Regions from separate parts of the Homo sapiens genome. Here regions 1, 3, 4 and 5 are each linked to region 2. Evidence: promoter capture Hi-C in 16 types of primary human blood cells and fetal thymus (Javierre and others, 2016). All regions are on one chromosome and are shown on one strand. The core of a region is centred on a gene start or on the middle of the fragment in contact, and the rest is flanking DNA. Distances in the headings are between cores, read along the strand shown.

Region 1 (3,755 bases), core at 576-3,075, 590 kb before region 2:
TGCCACCAGTGTGATTTTTAAAAATTATCTATTTGATGTTGTGTGATTGCGAGAGAGTGATGAATTGGAGAATGACTCTTTGGCATTGTAATGAATGATGATGCATTAATTTAGATATAGAATGGAAGAAAAGCAATCTAATGGGGGGAGGCAGCACACCTGTAGGGAGGAGGATTATACATGCATTCAACATTTATTCCACATCTCTATGTGCCAGGCACTCTTCCAGATGCTGGATATATGACAGTGAACAACAAAAAAAGACAAAGTATCGGCTCTCATACAGCTCACTAGTAGAAAGGGAAGACAAAAGAATAAGCACAAGCTAATAAATATATACTATTTTAGTGATGATAAGATTTTTTTAAAGTGGAGAAAGTAAGGGGGCTTGGGTGATCATCAAAGGGCTCACAGATTGGTGACATTTGTTTTTTGTTCTTAGTTTTCTGAGGCACGGTTTCATTCTGTCTCACTTAGGTTGGAGTGCAATGGCATTATCTTGGCTCACTGTAACCTCAAACTTCTGGGCTGAAGCGATCCTCCTCCCTCAGCCTCCTGAGTAGCTAGGACTACAGGTGTGTGCCACCACGTCTGGGTAATTTTGTTTTATTTTTCTATTTTCTATAGAGAGAGGGTCTGGCTGTATTTCCCAGGTTGGTTTCAAACTACTAAGCTCAAGCAATCCTATTGCCTTGGCCTCCCGAAGTGCTGGAATTACAGGCATGAGCCACTGCACCCAGCCAGATTGGTGACATTTGAATAGAGGCTACTTTATAAAAATAAAAGGACAAATTGCTAAATGAATATCCAATCAGGAGGGATTACAGCTAGCCTTCCATATATGTGGGTTCCTCATTTAGAGAGTCCGTATCTACGAACCCAACCAACTACAGAAAATATTTGGAAAAAAAAACAATAAAAATAATAATAAATAATAAAAATAATACAGATTAAAAAACAGTACAGGCCGAGTGTGCTGGCTCACGCCTGTAATCCCAGAACTCTGGGAGGCCGAGGTGGGTAGATTGCTTGAGGTCAGGAGTTCGACACCAGAGTGGCCAACATGGCGAAGCCCCATCTCTACTAAAAATACAAAAATTGGCTGGGCGTCGTGGTGCATGCCTGTAGTCCCAGCCACTTGGGAGGCTAAGGCAAGAGAATCGCTTGAACTCAGAAGGCAGAGGTTGCAGTGGGCTGAGATCACACTACTGCACTCCAGCCTGGGCGACAGAGTGAGACTCTGTCTCAAAATAAATAAATAAATAAAAAATATAAAACAATACAGTAAATCAAGTGCAGTGGCATGCATCTGTAATCCCAGCTATTCAGGAGGTTGAGTCAGGAGGATTGCTTGAGCCCAGGGGTTTGAGTCCAGTCTGAGCAACACAGCAAGACCTTGTCTCTAAAAAATAAAAAATAAAAGAAAATAAATACATTTTGAAATTTAAAAAAGTCAATACACTGGCCAGGCGAGGTGGCTCACGCCTATAATCCCAGCACTTTGGGAGGCCAAGGCGGGCAGATCACCTGAGGTCAGGAGTTCGAGACCAGCCTGGCCAACATGGTGAAACCCCATCTCTACTAAAAATACAAAAATTAGCCAGGTGTGGTGGTGGGTGCCTGTAATCCCAGCTACTTGGGAGGCTGAGCCCAGAGAATCGCTTGAACCTGGGAGGCGGAGGTGGCAGTGAGCTGAGATTATGCCACTGCACTCCAGCCTGCGGGACAGAGCAAGACTCCCTCTTGAAAAAATAAATAAATAAAAAAGGAAAAGGAAGAAAAACAACTGTTTAAATTGTATTAGGTATTATAAGTAATCTATAGATGTTTTGAAGTATACGGGAGGGTGTGCATAGGTCATATGCAAATAATATGCCATTTATGTAAGGGACTTGAGCATCTATGCCTTTTGGTACCCAGGAATTGCCTGGCACCAATCCCTAGCAGATACTGAGCAAGGGACAACTGTATTTCCAATTAGGGAGATAAGTCAAGATTTTACAAAAGTGGTAGTATTTGAGTTGGCTCTCGTAAGAATTTTGAGTGAAGATGCACTGAAAGGGCCAATCCAGATAAAAGGAAGAGTGTGAACTGAAGCTGGAAAGTGCGTCCTGTGTTCAGGAGATGACCACATCAATTTCTTCTAATAGAGACAAATGGGGTCAGATAGCTGCAGTCTTTGAATGCCATACTACTGTCTGAACTTCATTCTCTAGTCTGTGGGGAGTCATCAAAGTTTATAAGCAGGAGTGTGACAGACCCGGAATTGAATTTTTTGGAGACAGAGTCTCGCTCTGTCACCCAGGCTGGAGTGCAACAGCGTGATCTCAGCTCACTGCAACCTCCACTTCCTGAGTTCAAGCAATTCGCCTGCCTCAGCCTCCTGAGTAGCTGGGATTACAGGCATGTGCCACATGTAACCACACCCAGCTAATTTTTGTATTTTTACTAGAGATGGGGCTCATGCCTGTAATCCCACCACTTTGGGAGGCTGAGGCGGGTGGATCACGAGGTCAGGAGTTCAAGACCAGCCTGGACAAAAATCACCTTTTATAGAATGGATTGGAGGCAAGAACACCCAGTTAGAAGCCTATGGTAATAGACCAAGTGAAAGGTAATAAGACACATAGTGGAAATAAATAGGAAGATATATATGAAGACAGGCTCACCATGACTTGATTTTTTAAAAATTGCAGGGGCTAAAAGAAAGGAAATAGACAAAAGATACCGAGCCGAGATGTTTGGGAAGATATTAATGTAATTAACAGAGAAAATCACAAGGGAGAAAAAAGCAGGTTTGGGAGTACAGGCATAACTTGGAGATATTGCAGGTTCAGTTCCAGACCACCATAATAAAGTGAATATCACCATAAAGCAAATTGCTCGAAATTTTCGGTTTCCTGGTACATAAAAAAAGCTATGTGTTTACACGATACTGTAGTCTAGTGCATTATTTCTAGTTTGCATTATTTCTTTAAAAAAATTTACATGCCTTAATTTAAAATGCTTTTTTTTTTTGAGACAGAGTCTTGCTCTGTCACCCAGGCTGGAGTGCAGTGGCGCGATCTCAGCTCACTGCAGCCTCTGCCTCCTGGGTTCAAGTGATTCTCCTGCCTCAGCCTCCCGAGCAGCTGGGACTACAGGCGCCCGCCACCACGCCCGGCTAATTTTTTGTATTTTTAGTAGAGATGGGGTTTCACTGTCTTAGCCAGGATGGTCTCCATCTCCTGACCTCGTGATCCGCCCGTCTCAGCCTCCTGCAGTGCTGGGATTACAGGCGTGAGCCACCGCGACTGGCCTTAAAATACTTTATTCTAAAAATGCTAATGATCGTCTAAGCCAAGTCATAATATTTTCACTGATGGAGGGTCTAGCCTTGATGTTGGGGGCTGCTGACTGATCATGGTGCTGATTGCTAAAGGCTGGGGTGGCTGTGGCAATTTCTTAAAATAAGACAACAATGAAGTTGTTTTCATTCTTCCTTTCATGATATTGATTGATTCTTCCTTTCATGAAAGATTTCTCTGTAGCATGCAATGCTGTTTGATAGCATTTTACCCATAGTAGAACTTCTTTCAAAGTTGAAGTCAATCCTCAAACCCTGCAACTGCTTTATCGACTAAGTTTATGGAATATTCTAAACCCTTTGTTGTCATTTTGGCAATGTTCACAGCATCTTCACCAGGAGTAGATTCCAGCTAAAGAAACCACTTTCTTTACTTATTCATAAGAAGCAACTCTTCATCCATAGTTTC
Region 2 (3,750 bases), core at 701-3,200:
TACAGCACCCTCTACACCCATTCTACATTATGCTTTTCTCCATTTTATTTTGTCAGACCACACTTACTTTTTGCATGTCAAATAAAAAAAAATTATCTTCCGATGTCCCCCTTCTCATTTTCTATTTTGTATCACTTTTATTTATCATCATTTTATGGGGTCTCAGGAAGAAGAGACAGTAAATACATGTGCTCGGTTAGCTAGCTTTAATCAAAAATCCTAAACGTAGGTTTTAAAAAAGATAACTGGAGCAGGGCAGGAAATAATATTTTTTGCCAGTGTGGTGGCAAAAAATAAAAAACAAAAATCTGAATCTGTGTTAGGACAGTATTTCCGTGTATAACATAGCGCTTAGCAACTTAATTCTCCAGATCCACATATTTTAAGGACATGATGTATCTCAGACACCTACTTCAAACCTCACTTTACAGTTAAGTAAGACCACAAGTAGAATGAATTGCCTGAGGCCACACAAGTAGACAGTGGGAGAATGAGAACAGAAATATCTATTGACTCCTAGTTGAATTTTCTCTTACCTTACCACACTGCTAGGGAGTAACAAGATGGGCAGATCACGAGTCAGATGAGAAAGGTCATGAAAAATAGTCAAAGGATGACTTTTCCTGGGTAAATAGCCGGATGTCCAAGAAATGAAAGGCTGGTCTGGCAGCAGCACATCGTCTAACAGTTGGTAGTCATATGTGGGAAGTACTGAAGGGGGAGATGACAGCAGGCCCAGAAACTGCAATGATCCAAGTGCATGTCGATCCTGGGAGGGAACAGTTAAGAGTCCGGGCAGGATGAAACAGTAGAAACTGGTGAGTGAATGAATGTGAAGGCTGAGGAGCGACTGCAATTTGTTAATGGGATTATGAGGCAGTATAAAGTGGTTAATTACGGTGGCGGAGGTAAGCAGGAGTAAAATGATGGCTTTTAACTCCTCTCAAGGACACCGAAAATTATTTTAATAAACACTGGAAGGCTGGGAATAAATATAATTCACACCATTCTTACTTTCTTGGTTTAGAGATAGCTTATCTACATCCTTAAATTAATGGCTGTAGCTACCCTCTGCATGGCTCCAAAAAAAAAACAAAAAACAAAAAACAAAACCAAAGCCGGCTGCGAGTCTGCACGAGAAAATCGGGTTGCACCAGGCCCCAGCCGCCCGCCGATTCGCTTAGCTGTCGGAGGCTAAATAAACAGCTCCCGAAGCAGCGTTTGGCACAGCGCAGGGTCGGAACGTGGACACTAATTTCCGCCCACGCTCCCCGCGTCCTGGCGGGATCACCACAGACACGACGTCCATTGCTGGGGTCCTCGGCGATGCCCGTGTGCGCAGCCCCGCGAGTCTCAGGTCAGAAGACCACTAATTTCGCGGCCGCGTTCCACGAAGCTAAGGGGCAAAAAACCAGCTTTCTTGGGACAAAGCGTCCCCCCAGCAGCCAGGGTCGATCCCGGCGCTGCTCCCGCGGCGCTTGGCTGCCCCGGGCGTAACGGGCCACGAGAAGTAGGGGGTGGGGCGCCGCTTAGGTTTGGGAAGACACGAAGCGGCTCCTCGGGCTTCCAGCGTCCACTTCCTACGGCAAGCAGGAGGAGACAAGCGCCACCCTGCGCTCGCGGAGCCGACCCCGGCTCTCCCCTCCCGTGGCCGCAGGGGTCGTGTGTGTGTGTGTGTGAGTGTGTGTGTGTGTGCAGGGACGCTCCGCGCCCATCACTCTGTTTCGGTGCTAATCGACCGCCGTGGCGCCGATTTCCCCCGCTTCCCAGTTCCTCACCCGCGTGCCCCGGAAGGCGCCCGGAGGCCCCCGGGCCGCCGCGTCACGCTCCCGGGAGGCTGAGGGAAAGGGAGGCAGCCGAGCCGGGAGCCCGGGGAGGCGCGCTGCGCCCCGCGGCGGGGCTGGGGGCGGGGCTAGGTGTCTCGCGCAGGGGGCGGGGCGCGGTGACGTCGCGGGCGCCTGGGCCGTGCTGTGGCGGCGGCGGCGGCGGTAGTGGCGGCGGCGGCGGTGCCTGGGCGGCAGCAGCAGCAGTAGCGGCAGCCCTGAGGACGGTGAGACGGCCGCGGCGGCGGCGACAGCGCGGAAGTCGCGCGGGACCCAGAGCTTCCCCCCTGTCGCTAGTGCTGAGGCTTTCGCCTTTCCTACCCAGCTTCTTGCTCACGGCCCGGGCTGGGCTGGGCAGGGCAACGCGCCCCCGGGGAGGGGCGGAGCTGTAGGTGAGGCTTCGCGACCCCCTCCCCCTCCTCGGCAGCCCGGGGGGTGGGGAGGGGCGGGCCCCACCCAGACCACCGGCGCCCACCCGCGGGCTCCACCCAGCCGGGCTCCGGGATCGGGCGGGAGCCGAGGCGGTAGATGTGGGGATCCTGGGGCGGGAGGTGGGGGAGTGGGGACTGGGGCTCTGGGCACTTGGGGAGCGGAGGGGGGGAGGCTTAGGACTAGTGAAGCCGCGGACGAGGTAGTGGGGAGACGGAGAAATTGGGGAGCCATGAGGTTGGGGTGCGGTCAGGGTGGATCTTTGGGTTAGGTGAGTGATGTAAAATGCTGAAGATGATTCTTTTCTTTTCGATGAAATGGTGAGATAAAAGATGAAGTGTATTTCAAAAGGACGATGAGCTGTGCATGTTGCCTTTGAGGCAGTTGCAGAACCTATTTTATTGCACTAGATCTCACGTTTCTACTTTAGGGTTCGATTCTTTTTCTTCTGGCGGGGTGGGTGGGGGGTCGGAGAGGGAAGAGAATCCCCTTACTTTGGCTCAGGTAAATTGTGAGCGTGGATGTATCTGAAAGTTTTACACCGAAGAAGAGGGAGATCTTCGGTTTAGACAACTTCGTTCCGGCAGCCACCATTTGGGTCGCATTACGCTTAGCTCCTTCAAGGTGGTGTCTTCCAGTTTTTTTTCCCCCCAATGCCTAAAAGATCTCTTTATACCACCCTTTTACAGGCTTTATCCTGGCCCCTTGAGAGAAGGCCCCAAACTCAGGTGGTTGCTTTGGAAGGCACATTGCTGAATAATAGTTGCAGGTGGTTGTGGTTGACTGCTTTGGGTGGATAAAGTGAACAATTGGAATAGTTCTGTTGGAGCTAATTATATGAAAAATGCTTAAATGTTTTAAAGTACAACCGTCTTTTATAGCGTGTTGCTTGCTCAGTACACCTTGACTTTTAGACATTTTGTGTTCAGTGCTAAATTGTTGAAATTTTATTTCTCATTTGCAGTTATGTTTCTTGCAGTCTTTATTAAAACACTTTAAAATGAAATGGAACTCTTTTTTTTTGGTAGGCTCCTCAATTTCTGAGAAATGTTCTTGGAGTCAAGTGCTTTAAAAACATTTTGGGGGCAGGTGTGTCACTTTGTATGGAAATATTAGAGTAAGCAGTGTTCAATGTTCTTCACATCACTCTTTCACAACTTAGCACTGTAAATCAGAATCTTCTTTTCTGGATTCTTGCTCCCTGTTAGATTACAGTATTCTCTGGCCCTACTTATCAGTTAGTGTCATTTAAGCTATTTCTTGTTCAGAAAACAGGTCCCATGATGGACATGTATTATGTAATGGATGGAAGTAGACATGGCTCTCAATAATTCATTTATGGAGGAAGAGAAGCTGTCAGAAAGTGGGATTTAAGCAGTGACTTTCCCAAGGCTTGCCTAGTTTATTTGGGAAAATAGCCAGAGAAGTGCTTTCTTGTAACCCAAAAGAGAAATATACAGATAAGAATTTCAGTAGTTGCAGATCGTTGCTTTTTCTA
Region 3 (3,882 bases), core at 291-2,790, 540 kb before region 2:
ATAGTCTGCTTCATCTGCCCTTCTAACTTCCTAAGTAGGTAAGGGCACAGAGCCAAAAAAGATCTAGAATAGGCAGACCAGCAGAAAAAAAGGCAGGTGAAGAGATAGAGCTGGAAGGAGGGTTTGGCTGCAAAGTGAAGGGAGGCCTTGCAAAGAAAACATTTTGAAAGGGGGCTTTAAATCTCTACGTGAAAACATTGCTTTATCGGCTTAAGCTGTGAAATATTCCACTCCTGGACTACTTGGTAGCTTATTTTCAAGTTAGCCATACAAAAAGCAACTGTGAACACAACCTAGACTTCTGGAGATTAATTACTTAATTGCCTCACATTTATGATGACATCACAGTGCACCCGTGTTCTTGTGTGTAGGAAATCCCTCATTTTGGAGATGATGCCCTTCTTGGGGGAAACTACTAGATGAGAATATTCACATCGTAAGTGAATGCAGGTGCCTATGTGGGAGACTGTGGATCAGATTGTCACTGAGAAACCACCATCCTTGCCAGAACAGCCTTCTGGGAGCTCAACCTCCAAGTGGCAGCTATGATTTCTTTTGTTTGCAGATATTAGCTCTCTTTCTCTTTGCCTCTTCAGCTGCATGACCTCTTTTTTTCAAACTGAGCCAGCCAGTCTATTTTTTAAAAAATTAAGACTGGCACAGTGGCTTACGCCTGTAATTCCAGCATTTTGGGAGGTCACGGCAGGAGGATCATTTGAGGCCAGGAGTTTGAGACCAGCCTAGGAACATAGTGGGACTCCATCTCTACAAAACATAGAAAAAATTAGCTGGGTGTGGTGGTGCACGCCTATAGCCCCAGCTACTTGGGAGGCTGAGGCTGGGGGATCGCTTGAGCCCAGGAGGTCGAGGCTACAGTGAGCTATGATCAGGCTACTGCACTCTAGCCAGGGCTACAGAGTGAAACCCCATCTCTAAAAAAATAAAAAATAAAATATACAAATAATAAATAAATTGTGTTGTGTTGACACATGAACAGAATAGACTCATATCTACATATATGTCATATATGTATGTCATTATAATAGATGCATCTTGAGTTGCTGCCAAATATGGTTTTTTTTCAGTTTGGACAAATATTTATTCTCCTCGATGATTCAGCTCATCTTTCTATTTTTTAGATAATTGTACATTCGCATGCAGTTCTAAGAAATAATACAGTGATTTTATGCACATTTTGCCCAGTTTATCTCCAATCATTGACTCACTGCTTTTTGACTAGTCTGCAGCTAGTGAGTCCTGGTAATTCTGGATTGGACCACAATGTTTGTGATTAGCCTTGTGTTGACTTGTGACATTTTCCTTCCCTTTTGGCTCACAACAGCATTTAACAACAGCAGTGCGATTTTAAATGAACAATTTCAATATTGCTTGTGTTGACTCTTCCAGAGCCTCTTAATTGGCAAGCTTGCCTTGGCATTTGGGAAGGATAATTAAATATTAAGTAGAGGGATCCCAAATAGGAATGAGCCTAAGTAGTATTGTCATGCACATTTTGGTGAGATTTCATTTGGCCCAAAGCTCAGTAATCAGTGCAGATTGAACTGGTGTGCCTGGGTTTTTCTTTTTACTTAGAGAGGCGGTTCCTTACCCTAGCCTTATCTCTTGTGTCACTCCCTAGGCTGGGCCAGCACCTGATAAGCTTCTGTGGAAAATAGCTGTGTTCTCGGTGTGCAAACAGGTTCTCTTGCTTGTTTCTGTCAAAGCAATGAACTCCTTCCCCCCAAAAAATGACCTTAGGAAACTCTTCTTTCTCTACGTATTCTCTGCTCATTTCCTGAAGCCTGACTACTTTGTCCTCATCTTTGAGATTCAGTATTTCTTCCCCCCACCACTTTTATTTCTTTATTTATTTTAAAATTTTACATAGAGATGGAGTCTCACTATATTGACCAGGCTGGTCTCAAACTCTTGGCCTCAAGTGATTTTCCTGCTTCAGCCTCCCAAAGTGCCAGGATTACAGGTGTGAGGCATGGCACCAGGCTAGATTCTATATTTCACCTTGAGTCAGTCGGACTAAGCCGCCCTCTAACTCCCCTCACCCCTCTCCTATCGGGGTGCTTCCCACCCAGTCTCCTGCCCTTGCCTCCTAAGCGCTGATCATGAGCCTGCTGCCTGCCCACGCATGCACTGGCACTGCCTCTGGCTCTCCCTGCTTCCTAGGTCTCTGTCCTAGTCTGACTTCTGCACCTGGTGCACTTGCCTGCTCCTGGTCACTGATTCTGCTTCTGCTTGTCCCACCAGTGTTAGTGTTTCCAGGAGTTCTGACTCGGGCTCTCTTCACAAGACACCCACATCCTCTCCTGAGGTGTTGGCATTCCTCTCTGTGATGCCACCTATGACTCTCCCCTATGGTGAGAATGCTGGGGGTTTCCTTTTCTACAGGTCTTTAAAGGCTGCAGAAATCTCCCTCGAGAATACTATGGCATTTAAGGGAAAACCTTCCTGAAAGCAATGTATTCAGCCTAGAAAGCTGAGATAACACGGTGATCTGAAAATGTGGAGCAAAGGACATCTGACCTAGATTAAAAAAATAATTCAGAGACTGATGTGAAGTCTCTGAGGTCACTTTGTAAATTCACTGAAGGAAAATTCAGAGTGTGAAATGTCTCCTATAAACACCTGGATAACACATGGGATAACACAATGCAAGGCTTTACCATGCACATCTCCCACTGGCCTGCTCTGACAGCCCCCTTTTGAGGGTAAGATGCCTGGCTGAAGAGCAGAATCCTCATAAAGGCAGAAGAATATTTGTTATGTATTTAATTTTAGATATAGGGTCTCACTCCGTCACCCAGGCTAGAATGCAGTGCAGATCACTGCTCATTGCAGACTCCACCTTCTGGGCTCAAGCAGTCATCCCATCTCAGCCTCCTAAAGTGTTGGGATTACAGGCATAAGCTCAGTGCCCTGGAGCTTCTAAAAGATTCTTCTGCCTTGGTGGGGTGCAGTGGCTCATGCCTGTAATCCTAGCACTTTGGGAAGCTGATGTGGGAGAATTGCTTGAGCCCAGGAGTTTGAAACCAGCTTGGGCAACATAGCCCATCTCAACAAAAAATTAAAGTTAAAAAATTTAGCCAAGGGCTGGGCACGGTGTCTCACATCTATAATTCCAGCACTTTGGGAGGTGGGCAGATCACTTGAGGCCAGAAGTTTGAGACCAACCTGGCCAACATGGCGAAACCCCGTTTCTACTAAAAATACAAAAATTAGCCAGGTGTGGTGACGCACACCTGTAGTCCCAGCTACTCGGGAGGCTGAGGCACGAGAATTGCTTGAACCCGGAAGGCAGAGGTTGCAGTGAGCCAAGATTGCGCCACTGCACTCCAGCCTGGGTGACAGAGCAGGACCTGTCTCGAAAAAAAAAGAAAAAAAGAAAAAAGCCAGGCATGGTGGTACATGCTTGCAGTCCCAGCCACTCAAGAGGCTGAGGCGGGAATGAGCCATAGATTGTGCCACTGCACTCCAGCCTGGATGACAGATTAAAAAAACACATAACAAAACAAAACAAATACACGTCTTGACCACCCTCTACCACCCCACACACCGTGTAGGTGGCAAATATATGAGAGAATAGGAAAAAAAAAAAACCCAGAAAACCTCACCTCATGACTATGCAGTTTCACCAACTGTCCTTGTCCCAAATCACTAACCTGGGTTCATCTTCTTTCTTTATAGCTTAGCCAGTGAGGATGTTCTGTTTCAATCAGTTCTTGCAAACTGACTTTATTTTATTTTTTATTTTCTGTAGAAATGGGGTCTTGCTATGTTGCCCAGGCTGGTCTGAAACACCCGGGGTCAGCCTCCCAAAGTGCTGGGATTACAGGCGTGAGGCACCGTGCCCGGCCACCAAACTGACTT
Region 4 (3,581 bases), core at 967-3,466, 580 kb after region 2:
GCTAGAGTGCAGTGCCGCAATCTCGGCTCACTGCAAGCTCCGCTTCCCGGGTTCACGCCATTCTCCTGCCTCAGCCTCCTGAGTAGCTGGGATTACAGGCGCCCGCCACCACGCCCGGCTAATTTTTTGTGTTTTTAGTAGAGATGGGGTTTCACCGTGTTAGCCAGGATGGTCTCGATCTCCTGAACTTGTGATCCGCCCGCCTCGGCCTCCCAGAGTGCTGGGATTACAGGCGTGAGCCACCGCTCCCGGCACCACTTGGTTCTTTATGGCTGTTGAGCATAGCTCATCCTCGAAGTTTGTTTAATGCTCATTTTATGCTGTCCCACAGAAAAGACTATTGCCAAAGAGCAGAGCCACTTTTGTTGAAGGCTGTGCCACTCACCCAGAGTCCCCTGTGCAAAGGAAGGGAGGCTCACACAGAGCCAAGGGAGGGCAGGGCGCACCACATGCCCACTGCAGAGCCAGCATCCCCCTCGAGAGCTGCACTTCTGCCCTCAGGCCCACTGAGCTCCTTCTGCAAGGAAGCTTTTCAGACAAGAAGGAGGCTTTTATGAGGTTCAGATTCTTCCTAAGAGAACGTTTTGCTGTTGTTGCATGGAAGAGGGGTTTTTCCCCTCTGGTCGAAACTCCGCCCAGCTTTGTCTAGTGCGGTGTCCTGTCCACACTAGACCTGTTGTCCTAGTTTGTGTTCCTCCAGAAGCCCACCCTGAAGCAGTGACTCAAAGGCCAGTAGATTACTTGTGACATGAGGAGCTACTGATCAGAGAGTGGGAAAGTGAGACAAGGAAGGGAAGACAGCCAATCAAGAGTGGGTTATCACACCGGTGATGGACGTGGCCACTGGGGCCAAACCTGCTGGGGAAGTCAGCCGGGGTACAACATGTGTCCTTATACAACGGCTCCTGCCTGTCCCTGGTTGAGGGCTGTCACAGGGAGCACTCATCTCTGGCATCTCCTTCCTACCGGGGTGGGCAAGAGGGCTCCGCAAAAAAAGTGCAGGAGCTGGTGGTCAGAAGGTGGGGTCTCGTGCCTGAAGGGTGAAGGTGGGAAATGTGGGTGGGCATGGCTGTGTGCTCTGCCTGGAATACCTGCCTGCTGAGCTGACGCTGATTTCACGCCGTGGGGTTCCCTGTAGGCTCTCCTGGGTCTGATGGTGAGTAGAATGTCTAGCATTTTGTCTGGTTTTGCAAGTGAAAAAAGTGAGGCAGGGGAAGGGCAGTCAAGTTAAGGACTAAGTGAGCAAAGCAGAACGGAACCCAAGTGTCTCGATCACTTTTGCCCATCTTAGTCAGAACATACACTGAATAGTCAATGAATGAATCTTTGATGACGTGACCATCGAGACCAAGCGGTAGTAATTCTCCTCGGCCTCTCTTGATCTTTTTCCCTTTGGTGGTCCTCCCAGGTGGTGTGGTCATGATGGGAGGAGCAGTGATGGTGTAGACCAAGCTGCCTAGTGTCGCCATGTAATGCAGCTCCATCTACCCTTGTCTGCTGCTCCTCCAGATGAGCGGTTGCTGCAGGACAGTGGTAGGTTAAATAGGCCATTATTGTCCATAGTCCTTTCTCTGTGTGGCATGTGTTTATCACTAATAATCGGTCATTGCTATGACTGCCTGATTGCATGGTCCTTCAGCCACTATTTTAGAATCTTGTATATATCTTATACTTTATACATATACTCATGTATCAAAAGCATGCTATTGCATGGCAGTAGGTGTAAAACAGTTTCTTTTTTCTGGTGGGGTTTTTTTTGTTTGTTTGTTTTGTTTTTTTGAGACAGAGTTTTTGCTCTTGTTGGCCAGGCTGGAGTGCAATGGCATGATCTCAGCTCACTGCAACCTCTGCCTCCCAGGTTCAAGCGATTCTCCTGCCTCAGCCTCTCGAGTGGCTGGGATTACAGGCATGCGCCACCACACCCGGCTAATTTTGTATTTTTAGTAGAGACGGGGTTTCTCCATGTTGGTCAGGCTGGTCTCGAACTCCTGACCTCAGGTGATCCGCCTGCCTCAGCCTCCCAAAGTGCTGGGATTACAGGAGTGAGCCACCGCGCCCAGCCAGTGTAAAACACTACTTTCTTAGTTAGCAGAGCTTAAGCAACACAGCTCATCAGTTTCATAAACAGAGATAGTGCTTTTGAAAAAGAGACTTGAAATATCCAAATCATACATGTTTTTTATTTGACTTTAAAATGATTACCTTGGGACGGGGACACAGCAGTTATCAAAGAGCGACTTTTTAACAGATGCTGGGGTTTTCCTAGATTTCTCACCAGCAAGGTTACTGCAAGATTGTCCCTATCCCATTTGAAGTCACTACTAATAGCTCAGTCTGTCTTCCTCAAGTAAGAATCAGCTAAGCCTAATGTACTGAGTGTATCAACTCCAGATCTTCCCATCTCCTTGTTCCTCAAATATTGATTGAACACCTACTCTATACCCAGCACTTTCCTGGGTGCAGGGAGTACCAGAATGAAGACAGTTCTGTGCTCTAGTCCCTGGAGACCTCACCACCCATAGCCTGTTATTTCTATGAAGTGTTAAGTTCCTTAACTACAAATTCCCACCAAGGGAATTAGGAGGCTTCACCACCAAGGATGGGGAGGGATGACTGAAACTATGAGAAACAAGAGAAGTGGCAGTCACGTTTACGTGGGGGAGTCAGGAAAGGCTTTGGGGGCAGTGAAAAAAAAAGTAGGATTTACATGCAGATAGGCAAGGATAGAGCATTTTAGGTGACAGTATGACAATCCATGCAAGCTAGTGTTGACAGAGGGAACTTTTTAAATAACTTTATGAGGTATAATTTATGTACAACAAACTGCACTCAAAGTGCACGATACGGTGTGTTTTGACAGATGCATAACCCCATGAAACCAGCACCACAGTCACAATACAGGACACTTCTTGGCTCCCAAGAGTTTCCTACTGTACGTTTGCAACTGGATGCAGGGTATGTTTTAGTGCAGATAATGTGCCCCTTTCAACACAAGAACATTTTGATTTGGCTTTTTTTGTTACCAAGTAAGATGCACCAGGCACCCTGATCTTTAGGTCTGAGTCCATATGCTAGTAGACCCAGGTCCAGGGGGCCCGCCCCATTCCCAGAGAGGCCGTGGTCTATCATTGGAGAAATCGTGACTGCAGAGGTTCAGTCCTGACGCACATACAGGTCGGGGAAGCGGGGGGGCAGTGGAGAGGAAGGCAGGGCCAGGTTATCGAGGATCCCGGACAGCGTGCAGCAGAATTTAGATTTTAACCTATTGGCAAGAAGGAGCCCACTGGAGATTGTGACCGGGAAGTGATAGAATCAGATTTGTACATTAGAAAAATCACTCCTGGGACCTGGGTCAAAATGGTCAAAATGAGAAGTGATGAGGACTGACTTAGGGCAGTGGCGGTGGAGGGGGGATGGAGAGGAAATAATGCGGTCAGAATCCAGAAGGCGGAATCAACAGAGCTGGGACAATCCTTTGGGCACAGGATGTAATAAGAGAGAGAAGAGTTATTCATAACTTCCAGGCTGATTGTGTGGTCAGCCAGGCAGTGCCTTTTATGGAGGCCGTAAATCTGGGTAGG
Region 5 (3,690 bases), core at 707-3,206, 600 kb after region 2:
TTTTTTAAGGCTGAGGTAGAAAGATCCCTTGAGCCCAGAAGTCCGAGATTGTAGTGAGCTCTGATCATGCCACTGCACTCCAGCCTGGGCAACAGAGCGAGACTCTGTCTCAAAAAAAAGACAAAAAATAATAATTTTTTTAAGAGATGGGGTTTTGCTGTGTCGCCCAGGCTGGTCTTGAACTCGTGTGTTCAAGTGATCCTCCCACCTCAGCCGAGTGAGTAGCTGGGACTACAGATGTGTGCCGTGCCTGGCTTGGTGCCACACATCTCTGAAGAGAGACAGGGTGGTGCTTTGCAGTGCCCCTGTGAGCCGCCTCCATGCTGGTCACCTTCTGCATTGGTCATTAAGTCTAGAGCAGCCCAGGTTCTGACACTAGGTTCTCCTCTAATTACCTAGGCAAAATCTTTTCCACTTTGTTAAGCATCTTTTCCCATTTATAAAATTAAATGTACCACATCTGCCAGATTTGGGAAAACAAAAATGTTGAGACAGAGAAACCGAACATTGTGTTATGACTGAGTTCTTCCACAGATCACACTCACATTCCTGACCTGGTCTCACTTGGGTTTCTCTGCTGCGCCACGGCTGCAGACCCAGTTCTCTTCTTTGTAATTGAGACTCATTTGTTTCCACTATCACAAATGCAAGTATCCTTGTAAGTTTTTTATAAGGATATAAAGCATTTGTTCCTTAAACAACTAAAGTGGCCGGGCGCGGTGGCTCATGCCTGTAATCCCAGCACTTTGGGAGGCCGAGGCGGGCGGATCACTTGAGGTCGGGAGTTTGAGACCAGCCTGACCAACATGGAGAAACCCCGTCTCTACCAAAGATACAAAATTAGCCGGGCGTGGTGGCACACGCCTGTAATCCCAGCTACTCAGGAGACTGGGGCAGGAGAATCACTTGAACCTGGGAGGCGGAGGTTGCAGGGAGCCAAGATCGTGCCATTGCACTGCAGCCTGGACAACAAGAGTGAAACTCCGTCTCCGTCTCAAAAAAAAAAAAAAAAAAAAATTGAAGTAGAAGAGTAATGAAATAATAGAAACTTAAGTCTTCTTTTTAAAGAAAATATGTGCACTTTTCTGGGTTAATAAATAGCAGGCAGAGGAATTCCACTTCGATTGTTTTATTGGGAGTGGGGGTTTAACATACCCCACTCTGGTGCTGCTCAGTTAAGATCTCAAGCTTACTTTCTTTTGCACCTCAACTGGAGGGCTTGGCTTTACATACGACCAAATATTCTGGGTTGGTAAAGGCAACTCCAGCAGGCAAAATCAGAGCAATCCCTGGAAAAGAGGAAAAAACTGAAACTGATCATTTGTGGACATTTAAATTTACCAATTGTCTAGAAATTCCATACAAGAGCTGAGATATATGCTCTTGTTCCAACTGTGCACTTACCTTTGATACTTCATTAAGTAAATTATTAATATTTGGCACTGATCTAAATATGCATGTCCCATCTGTTTTACAACTTTTTAAAAAATTTAACTTGCTGCCTGATAGTTAACCAAGTGCATTGACAGAAATGAGGTAAGTATGTGACCCAAGTCTGAGCTTAGGTTTGAATGCAGCTTTCTAATTTCTAATGCTGTGCTTTACTCATGATCCACATTATTTCATCAAAAAGCCTCACCCCTCTGACTCCTCAGGGGTTCATAATGGCACAAAATTTAGGTCTTGCCCTCTACTAAAGGGATGGAATTAACTTTTAAAAGGGGTGATGTTTGATGCAGGGAAGAGAAAGAGAACAGAGAGAGGGGACCACTAGATGACTTACTATAGTCCCTCCCTTTCTACCGCAGAACACAGCAGAGATCAGAGGCCAGGGCTTTCCCTTTCATAGAACTGGGAAGAGACAGTTGTCAGAAGCTGCATGAGGTCTTGGTTTTGTTTTACAAATCTGATCTTTTAATCAAGAGGTTCTTATTCTTTAGAAACACAGTGGTCCCTGGGGGCCACTACCCTTTCCCTTTGAAAACTTGAATTCGAATTCTCTAAGTCAAAAGTGAAAGGTTTTGTTTGTATTCTAAGACCAGCACCTATCTAGTAACCACTTCAGGAAAGCAGCAGGATTTGGGAGCTAGGCCATGCTTTAATTTACATATCATATGTCCTTATGTAAGAGAAAGTTCATACCTTTCAAAAGAAAAAGGAACGTTTGCTTTTTTACATCTTTGTTGTTCATCTGACTCATGAAAGAACATGATCGGTTCGAGTTTATTTTTAGGATATACTGGTACTGGCTTTTAGTTTTAGTAAATGTTAAGTTGGACAAGTTAGGGGCCTAGCTTGGGAGCTGCAGAAATTGGCTGAGCCCCACAGGTGATTTATAGATAATCTTTCCAGTAAGAACATTGAAGGGCTACACACAATGACACTTAGAAAAAGAAGGGAAATGAAGCTGTTCCTTGACTACTACCCAGTTTCTGTTGAGGTTTATTACTTCTAGATGATAAGGTTTACACGAAGTTTACATTATGTTTTTTCAGTTCTCAAGTTTCAGCAAATACCTGAACCAAGTTTTTTTCTGTTATTCTAAGAACTGCCCTGGAGTGCCTTTTAACTTTTGTACCACCACGCAAAGTGTACTATCAATTCATGTCCTTTAGCTCTTCTATTCTTCAATGCATTTCTCCCATTCCTGTAGGTATGGCGGGGATCAACTTTTCATACCACCAAGAGTCACCCCTATTCCCTTTGAAGTACTGCCCTATGGCATAAGCTTGTTCATACGGTGTTCAAACAGCTACCGTTCACTTCTATGAGGGTCACCTTACTGGAAACCAAGGTATGACGAGTAACTAAATCTTCTCATCAAGCAGAAGGGAGCTGGACTTTAGAAATGGAGCCTGGGCCACGCAGAGTGGCTCACGCCTGTAATCCCAGGACTTTGGGAGGCCGAGGTGGGCAGATCGCTTGAGCCCAGGAGTTTGAGACCAGCCTGGGCAACATGGTGAAACCCTGTTTCTACAAAAAAAATACAAAAAAAAAAAAAAATAGCCAGCCATGGTGGTGTGCGCCTGTAGTCTCAGCTACTCAGGAGGCTAGGTGGGAGGATCACTTGAACCTGGGAAGTCAAGGCTGCAGTGGGTTGTGATTGTACCACTGCACTCCTGCCTAGGCAACAGATCAAGACCTTGTCTCAAAAAAAAAAAAAAAAAAAAAAGATCAAGACCTTGTCTCAAAAAAAAAAAAAAAAAAAGACAGGAAGGCAGGAAGACAGGAAGGAAGGGAGGGAGGGAGGGAGGGAAATGGAGAAATGGAGCCTAGGTTTGAATCCTGGCTCCCTCACTTACTGGTTGGGTAACTTACGGCAGGAATTATGACTTATCTGGAAAACAGGGATAATACCTGTTTCAGCAGGTTGCTTTGAAGATTAAAACTTACAAGTACCTTGTAAAACACACATAGGTTCTCAACACGTTAATTGCTTTCCATCCAAAAAGGTTGAGAGATGAGCAGTTGACCTTCACTAACCACTCTAGGTGGTTTATCATCTTTCCCAGAGAAGCTCCGGCTATATACTAAGTATGCCTCATTCAGGATAAGGATATAGCTAGACCCATGGTCGTAACTTTCAAACATCAATTTGCCGACCTTTAGTCAAGCGTATATTTAACATTTAACGTAAAAAGGAGACAAAACAGAAGAACGTGCTTCACGTTACAGGTGGTAGGAATATTT

Evidence for each region. The method cuts DNA at HindIII sites, captures the fragments that hold promoters and counts their contacts. A CHiCAGO score of 5 or more calls a contact.
Region 1: a contact is called between a fragment that was not itself captured here and the fragment with the promoter of ERC1 in region 2, in 1 of 17 cell types (activated CD4 T cells). The highest score is 5.2, in activated CD4 T cells.
Region 3: a contact is called between a fragment that was not itself captured here and the fragment with the promoter of ERC1 in region 2, in 2 of 17 cell types (activated CD4 T cells and naive CD4 T cells). The highest score is 6.1, in activated CD4 T cells.
Region 4: a contact is called between a fragment that was not itself captured here and the fragment with the promoter of ERC1 in region 2, in 1 of 17 cell types (endothelial precursors). The highest score is 5.6, in endothelial precursors.
Region 5: a fragment that was not itself captured here is called in contact with the fragment with the promoter of ERC1 in region 2 in 17 of 17 cell types (endothelial precursors, fetal thymus, megakaryocytes and 14 more); the score reaches 14.9 in endothelial precursors.

What each region holds. Positions count from the first base shown.
Region 1 is chr12:394,647-398,401 of GRCh38, forward strand. All of the region lies in intron 2 of LOC105369594 (a long non-coding RNA gene), which reads right to left. It also overlaps a transcript of CCDC77 not described here. Among named protein-coding and RNA genes, the nearest start is that of CCDC77, 5.1 kb to the right of the region's middle. The HindIII fragment of the contact is 9,606 bases long and covers 1-3,755 here.
Region 2 is chr12:989,273-993,022 of GRCh38, forward strand. It overlaps ERC1 (ELKS/RAB6-interacting/CAST family member 1), which reads left to right and starts at 1,951. Exons shown (of 19, transcript NM_178040.4): 1 at 1,951-2,050. It also overlaps a transcript of RAD52 not described here. RefSeq lists enhancers at 782-1,344, 1,906-2,467 and silencers at 1,166-1,215, 1,626-1,735, 1,756-2,265, 2,471-2,765. The HindIII fragment of the contact is 9,168 bases long and covers 1-3,750 here.
Region 3 is chr12:449,051-452,932 of GRCh38, forward strand. No RefSeq gene overlaps it. Among named protein-coding and RNA genes, the nearest start is that of B4GALNT3, 8.9 kb to the right of the region's middle. The HindIII fragment of the contact is 235 bases long and covers 1,424-1,658 here.
Region 4 is chr12:1,569,446-1,573,026 of GRCh38, forward strand. All of the region lies in intron 1 of FBXL14 (F-box and leucine rich repeat protein 14), which reads right to left. Among named protein-coding and RNA genes, the nearest start is that of FBXL14, 23 kb to the right of the region's middle. The HindIII fragment of the contact is 3,380 bases long and covers 527-3,581 here.
Region 5 is chr12:1,586,248-1,589,937 of GRCh38, forward strand. All of the region lies in intron 1 of FBXL14 (F-box and leucine rich repeat protein 14), which reads right to left. Among named protein-coding and RNA genes, the nearest start is that of FBXL14, 6.5 kb to the right of the region's middle. RefSeq lists an enhancer at 1,595-2,254. The HindIII fragment of the contact is 1,540 bases long and covers 1,187-2,726 here.